2 separate regions of the Homo sapiens genome follow, and region 2 is linked to region 1. Evidence: promoter capture Hi-C in human tissues and cell types (Jung and others, 2019). All regions are on one chromosome and are shown on one strand. The core of a region is centred on a gene start or on the middle of the fragment in contact, and the rest is flanking DNA. Distances in the headings are between cores, read along the strand shown. Region 1 holds the start of MEDAG (mesenteric estrogen dependent adipogenesis). Region 2 has its middle 17 kb from the start of UBL3.

The links. The method cuts DNA at HindIII sites, captures the fragments that hold promoters and counts their contacts. A contact is called where the count stands out against the background at its distance.
Region 2: a fragment that was not itself captured here is called in contact with the fragment with the promoter of MEDAG in region 1 in 1 of the 25 tissues and cell types used here (lymphoblastoid cells).

What each region holds. Positions count from the first base shown.
Region 1 is chr13:30,904,274-30,908,354 of GRCh38, reverse strand. MEDAG (mesenteric estrogen dependent adipogenesis) reads right to left here and starts at 2,084. Exons shown (of 5, transcript NM_032849.4): 1 at 1,562-2,084. The coding sequence starts at 1,839. All of the region lies in intron 2 of TEX26-AS1 (TEX26 antisense RNA 1), which reads left to right. RefSeq lists an enhancer at 982-1,483. The HindIII fragment of the contact is 12,319 bases long and covers 1-4,081 here.
Region 2 is chr13:29,865,371-29,869,212 of GRCh38, reverse strand. It overlaps the pseudogene TIMM8BP1. Among named protein-coding and RNA genes, the nearest start is that of UBL3, 17 kb to the right of the region's middle. The HindIII fragment of the contact is 4,331 bases long and covers 1-3,842 here.

The sequences.
Region 1 (4,081 bases), core at 835-3,334:
AGCCCTCACAGTATTGCTTATACAATGATAGCCTATTATTTGTTGTTTTGTATTTGCACCCTGGTCTGTGTTACCTGGTCACTGTGGCCCAGTTGTTTATTCTAGATTCAAAGCTGTCAGGGGAATCACTGTTGTTTAATTTTCTTTTGTGTAGGAGGTGTTCAAAGCAAAAGTTAGATGACAGACTTCAAAATCATTTCAGATTCTGCAGCACTGTTTGCTACAATTAGGAGAACTGGTTCTGTCAAAACCCTAACTTACGGCTTCGTTCATTCTGGACATTTTTATTTTTCATACCCTGCTCTCAAATACAATGGGTATCTTCTTTTTAAATCTGCACACATCTGACTCAGTTCCTCCCACAGTCCTCCGCTTATGGTTTGGAATTGGAATTTTCATTTCACTAAGAAAGGGAGAAATTCTTGCTGGGGAATGGTTCTTCAGGCATTCAGAGCCCTCACTATCTTTGGAAAAGCAAGGTTTTTTCTCCAAGAGTTTTGAAGACTGCACGTTCAATATCTCATTTTGTTTGCTTCCCTCTCTTGGCTCCCTCCTACCCACAGGGTGCCACAGCACGCTGTCTTTCCCAGTAGCAAAGGCGCTGTGTCTCAAAAGCTGGCTATCTTATTCATTTCTGAGTCAAACTCTAGACCATGCTTGCCTCTTCAGGCACTTGGCTCTCTCAGCACAAATATAACAGGTCTTTGCACTCCAGGCCCTTGCCAAGAGTGAACTCTGGAGGCCTGAGGCCATGTGGAATCAGGCCTGAAGTGCCCTCCTTTACCCTGTGGCACCAAAGCCTGCTTCAGATGGCTGGGCCACATCCTGCCGGTCTGCCAAGAAGAGCTTGGGGGCACTCTGGCCACAACAGTCAAGCATCCTGGGGGCCTCCTTCCCATTAAGGCCCTCAGGTTTCGCACTTATTTCCCCAGAACTTATCTGTGCCTTCCACAGCCCACATGGCCCCGGGCTGGACTTCCAGGGGCTTTGTTCCCTTCTCAGCTGCGGTTTATTTGTTTACTTTTGAAACACGAAGTGAGGCCAGAGATGGGAAACTTTGAGCTTTTGCATGCTTCTCCACTCGGTCTCCTCACTGGAGAGGGCTGGCAGTGCTCAGAATGGTGCATGCCCCCTGCTCCTCACCGCCACCCATGCTCCAAAGCCAGGATGTGAGTCTTGCAGAGCTGCAGACAGCCCCTAAAGGGTGTGCTCCCAATTTGAGCTCATCTGACCCAGTTAAGGAGCCAGAATGGGAGAAGCATCTGCCACTCATGAGCTCTGGCTGGGGGGCCCCTGCCCTCCCCCTCGCCCCCAGTCCTGATGCCCTTCTGGGCGGCTTCAAGCAGCAGCTGCAAAATGTCAGTGCAAGAGGCAGAAGAACCAGGGCGAGCGTGCAGGCTCCGGGTGATAGAAGCAGAAGGAAAGTCTAGAAGCGCACGGAGCAAGGGGCCACGCGGTGTCGCAGGCAGCGAGGACAGCCCAGGCTCCCAGAGACCGCAGCCGGGTGGAGGCGTCTGCGGGTACCAGGCGACGGGCCAGGGCGCACGGCGAGGCCACCCACCTCTTGATGTAGCTGCTGAGGCGGTAGAGCTGCCCGTCGAGGCGCACGAGGCCGTCACCGAAGACGTTGAAGCCCCCCCGCGCCGCCGCCGGCTCCCCGGGCCTGGCCACCACGAGCTGGTCGCCGCTCAGCTGGAAGGCACCGGGCTGCAGGCGCAGCAGCTGAGCCAGCGGCAGCAGGGCCAGCTCGCAGTCGCAGGTCCACAGGCTGCGAAGCTCCCCAGACGAGATGGAGGTCAGGCTCGGCCTGGCCACCGGCTCGCAGGCCGCCCCCGCCATGCCCGCGTCGTCGGTCCTCACACCGCCTGCTTCCGTCCGGTGCCTACAGCCCCCAGCCGGCACCTGATGGTCCCCAGGAGGGGCCGGGCGCCCTGCCTGCGTCAGCCGCGCGCGAGGTGAGGAGGGGGTCGGTCTGCCCGCCTGGCCGGGACGCGGTGGCCGCTCAGGTGCCAGTCTGACCGCCCGGGCGGCCCCTCCCAAGCTGCCACTCGCTGGGAGCCCTGCAGGCACCGCGCGGAGAAAGCGGCCCCGGCGCAGCGCGGCCCCTTTTATCCGCCCTCTGGACGCCCGCCTCGCCCCTGCCGGCCCACGGCCACGACCCCAGAGGCTCGGGGCAGAGTTATCATCGTCTCATAACTTGGCATGCTCGAGTCTGCTCGCAGGCAAGGCTTAGTCATCCCCCTGGGGTCCACTACTCAACACCAGCGCTGGCCCCCGCCCTGCCTGGCGGACACTGCCGGAGGCTGGAGGTGGGGAGAGTCCTCCCCGGGTTCCCAGGCCCTGCCTATGGTGGGCGGCAGGGCGCACAGCACCCATCCTTGCCTAAGACACCACACCCCTGGTGTTGATTGGAGAAGAAGGCAAGGGCTCTGGCCCTACCCATTCCACCTGGGACCCAGAGGCTGTCAAAGGCCAGTGCTGGAACTCCGATCCCCACCTCAGTACCAGACCTCTCACTCAGCCTCAGTTTTCTGCCATTTTAACTCCATCCAGATCGTACCCTGCATTTCCCTCCTTTCAGCCTTTCCTTCAGCTGGTTGCTGGCCCTGGATCCCTTCCCCCTAGAAATCCCACTGATCATCACATCGCTTTTCCATAAAGCCTTCACGAATCCCACGAGGGTTTCATCGCTTTGCTTCTCCTTTCTACTGCACGGTGAACCCTAGACTGCAATGTGCCGTGTAGTGGGGATAGCAGGGTCCTAGCATCCTCCCTTCTCCCCTGCCTCCCCAGTAGGTGGTGATCTCCTTGAGCCCCAGAATATGTTCATTTCTTCAGTCTATAAATATGTGAGTGCTAGCTATGGGCTCATTGATCTCCTGAGGTATGAAAGGAGAACTATATTATTCCATTTAATTAAACACCTATTTCTGCTGCGGAGAAGCCTGGATGGGATGGGAGGAGAATCTAGCCTAGTTTCGAGGCTTTCTGTAGTACTGTGTTTTAGGATTCTAAGCTACATCCCAAAAGTTGAGTAGAACGTAGAGAATATCCTTAGTTAGTCTTTGTGTGCCCCCACATGAACTCTTGTGTAGGTTTAATCAGATGGGATGAAGAGTCCTCCCGCCACATCTCATTTAAATCTCAGAATATAAATGAGCCCCACTCTCTTCTCTTCTTCTAGGTGCACACCTATCCTTTCTCCAGACATGGATCTTTTACCCATGGGATCATTACCCCATCTCTGGGCCTCTCTGAACAAATCTAATTCACTGAGCATGAATTGATCACTACCCACTCAACCTTTTGTGGCGCAGGAAGGATGCTCTACCTGTGAAAAAAGCATCCAGAAGATCTTCTTGCAAAGGGAGGTTTGAGGATCCCTGCAAAGAGAATGGGTCTGGGGTGGGCTGAGACTGTAGACAGGACTCAGAGGCTGGGGCTGTTTTCACAGGGGAGGGATTTGGTGCCAGCAGTTAAATCCATTGTGCCCTATTTAGAACTTCACTCTTGTCCCAAACATTGACAGAGTCATCACTATGCACCAGGGACCATCTTAAGCTCTGAGGTCACACACACACACACACAAGGATCCAATAAGTGCTACCATAGATGTATGGACTAAGCACTATGAGAAATAAGTGGTTCTGCCCCAAGAAGGGTGCTCAAAGGAGGTGACACATGGCTAGACTTCCAATACACAGGGGAGGCTCCCAGGGGAAGGAGCAGCAGCAATAAGGAGATGGGAGAGAAGATTCTGTACCATTCTATGCAAAGAGAGATGCTATGGTTCCATCTGGGGGAGGGGGGAAATTTTTAAACAGCTAGGGCAGACCATCCTATTTGGGATAAGAGGGGTCAGTTTTATATGAGATGAGACCAGAAAGGGCTGTTGGAGCCAGATTGTGACAGACCCTCTGAGTTGTCAGGAATTTGGATTCTTAAGACAATGAGGAGCCTTGGGATGTTTTAAAGAAAGGAAGTGATATAATTATGCCTCAGTTCAGATAGACACCTTTGGTTATGACCAAAGAAGATGTTTTGAAACAGGAAGATCAGAGGCAGAGAAACCAGTTAGGAG
Region 2 (3,842 bases), core at 581-3,080, 1.0 Mb after region 1:
TAACTTTCAAGGGCTTTGCCACTCTACAATCCTGTGATTCTTTGGGCCACCAGAATATGTCAGCTAATCAAAAACTAAAAACGTCACCCTACATCCAGAAACATGCTTTCCCTCAGTTGTCTATGCAGGTAAAGCGAATTCAAGATCCACAGCTAGTCGGGTTAGTTGAGCTAAAAACAAAGGCTAACGCCAACCAATAAACAAATTTTTAAAAAACTAAAAAGAAAAAAAAAAAAGAGCTAAAAACAAAGGAGCCCATCGCTTTAACTAAAGAGTCCATGGTGAATCATCCCATAAAAGACAATCTGTTCCAAAAATCACAGGTCTCTGTCCTTGATATGAAAGCTTTGTCATATCTTGCAGTCAGCAAATCAAGTTTTTATAAGAATGAAAATAAACACGCTCGTGGTGCTATAAATAAAAGGTGAATAGGGAACAAGCTCAAAGGCATGCCAACGCCACTGAAGCACAGAGGATCATTACGCAGCTGTTCAGAGAATCCCAGCACGCCCCTGACAATGGAGGTGCCGATGATTTGTAATTAAGAATTTTAATTTCATCCTTGACCTCATAAGAATCATCACTAATACAATTTGTTTGTAAACTTGAGCCTTCACACATTCTACTACCACAAGACCTGGAACAAACTAGCACAGGCTTGTGTGAAGAGCATCCACATACTCAAATATAATTGGAGTTTAAATTTGTGAAAAGATGAACACCACCAACAATAACAACAAAACGTTTCCCAGATATCTTCATGACCATTATTTGGCATATTCCAAAGGAATAACCTGATTTAGAGTAAACTATGTTAATTTAATTACCATGCAATGTAAGTCCAGAAGAATCACCAGGTAGAGGGTGAAATCAACTCAGGCTTCCAACAAAATCATCCTTCATTTTCCTCAATAGGCACCTGGAAGAAAATTTGAATTTAAAATCTGACCGGCACATCTTTAATTTTTAGAACACTGTTTTCATTGTTGTTGTTTTGAGACGGGGTTTTACTCTACCACCCAGGCTGGAGTGCAGTGGTGCAATCTTGGCTCACTGAAACCTCTGCCTCCTGGGCTTAAGCGATCCTCTTGCCTCCGCCTCCCAAGTAGATGGGCCTGCAGGTGCATGCCACCACGCCTGGCTAATGTTTGTGTTTTTTGTAGAGACAGGGTTTCGCCACGTATCCGAGGCTAGTCTCGGACTCCTGGACTCAAGCCATCTGCCTGCCTTGGCCTCCCAAAGGGCTAGGATTACAGACATGAGCCACTGTGCCTGGCCCTAAACTCTTAAAAACAGAAAGGGCTTTGGGCCACTTGCTTGCATCCAAACAGGACAGAGCTGGCAAGAAAAAAAAGGATAAAAAGTCAGTAGATCTGTCCAGGCCTCCAAGCATTTTACAGTGTCAGGAGGTGTGTTTAAACTTGCCATTGTTATACACTAATAAATGTTAGCGGTGTGGTTAGTTTTTAAATAAATGGTAAAATTTGATTTCACATTTTTTTTTTTACTACTTTCCAATGCAGAGTTGCCTGTAATCACATTTGTGCAGAAGGGAGGAACACCCTTCCTGGAATAAGACAAACCGAGAGTGGAATTTGACGGATAAACTGTGTCTTTAAAAGAAAGTAAACCCAAAGGCCAGCATTTTATTAAACCAATAATTTACTTCTGGGTCCCTGAAGCTGCTTACCTTTTTTTTATGTTTATGGAAGAAAAGTGAATATGCATGAGCTAAGGAGAGTGAAGCTCCTGTTCTTCTGACGTCTTAACTCTGTGTTAGTGAGTTAGTGCAAATTGCCACATGGTACCTTTTCTGATCATCCCCTCCCCTTCTCTTTAATCCTTAGAGTTAAACAGGCATGAGTATGAATCCCAGTGACCACAAGAAAGTTATTTAGCTTCTGAGTCTCTTTTATTCACCTGTAAAAATGGGCATTTCAACGGGTTGTTGTAGCGATTAGGTGAACTGAAGTATTTATACTTTAATAAATAAATCTGGTGCTTCACAAGTCCTTTTTACTTGTGCCTGACACATGGAAGTCACCTGGGGACTGTCAGTGCCATCCAATTTTCCTTCTGCTTCTGCTCCTTTTTCTTTCTATTCTCCTTTTGTTTTTGTTTTTGTTTGTTTTTGGCTCGTCCTCACCTTCTACATCCTCAACACAGCAGATGTGTGGTAGAGCCCAGGGAGGTTCGTGGGGACTATTCCATGTTCTTTCCCCTTCTGCTGCCTGATGAAAACCCCATGCAGTATGAAAAATTGCAAGGAAAAGAGCTCCACCAATCCATTCATTTCCATGCCCTTGTAATTGGTGCAATTCCCTTTGGACAAGGTAACTAAACAGATCAGGCATAATAAACAAATGCAAGAGTTGAGAGCTATGAGGGTGGGAAAGTTCAACAACACCTGCCCTGGGCTCCCCTAAAGAGAAGCAGAACACCGTATGGACACCCTCTCCTGCCTCTTGCCCAAGGCATGGCCTCTGTGCTTGTTGCTGCTGCTTTTCTATTAGCTCACCCTTTTGCAAACTTTGTCTATGAGTATACTGCTTCTCTCTCTCCCACTTCCCTTCCGTTAATGTTTGATTGTATTCTACATAGCACCCAGACGTTTTTGGATTCAAGTGCCCTGAGCTCCCTAGGATTCAGGGAAACGACAACTTTGATTATCAATAATAGAGATTCCAATTGGTCATGGAAATTGCTGGAGTTAACAATTCAAATCTTCAGACTAGCATTGTGCACAACATGAGCATCACCCAGTACATCTTTGTTCAAATTGCTGCAATGTTTTGAAGTAGTTGCAAAATAAAGTGTTTTAGGGAAATCTCTCATGTTGGATTTTCTATGAGTAGAAAGTAACTTTTTTCTCAACTGAAGCTGGTTTAGGACCTATGCATGTTTTAATTTTCAAACTAAATCAGGGGGTTTATTATTTCAATTCTGTTTAAATATATCAGGACACGCATTCAGTGAAATAAAATTGTGAAATGTGCTCCTGGGGCTTTAAGAAAAATGAGAGGTCCTGAGACTCACGTGGACAATGACAGTGCTGGGCGAGGTGGTTGAAGCAGGGTTGCAGCACAGGTGTGTCGCTTCCTGGAGCTGTTCTGGGATGGATGTGTGGAGAAGCCAGGGAAATGCCTAGACTCTCACACTGAAAATTGCCTCTCTAGCTCTGTGGACCGCTTCATTGACACCACTCTTACCATCCCAGTCGGCTTGCCCAGATTGTACAGAAAGGAGGGCAGTAGGCCATCCCCTGGGAGGATGAGAAGCAGCAAAGGACTTCTGATTAAGCAGACTGAAGAGCCAGTGGGGGAAGGTTGTCAACCCATTGTCAGGTCAGCAGCTGGCTGCTATCAAGTTTGTTGGTGTTAAAAAGTAACAGAACAAATGTTTAAAAAGTGAAATTTATTTATTTGGAATTCAGAAATTCCATGTTGTAGCACATCAGTAATTCAATAAATGTGAATTCTCAAAAAAATTAATAAAACTGCAGTGTCACTGTCTTTTCCATGAAATCCTGGTCTCACTGAAGTACTTCTAGTTCCACTGTAAGGTCACTTGGATATAAGATCAAGGATGGAATTGTGACAATAGAGAAAATAACAGCAGGAGATATACAGACGAACATTTCATGAAAAACCTACCCACAAAGACAAGATGATAAATTCCTCTCCAAATCTCCAGATAACTTTGAAAATGTCAGAACTGGGCATACCCAGGAGCTGGAGGCAGGCTGTGTTTGTAATTCAGAACATAGCAATTCCTGCCTGACTCTATTTTCTTTGCTTACCCAAGACAATCCAAGGAATCTTGTAAAGTAGTGGTATTTCCCC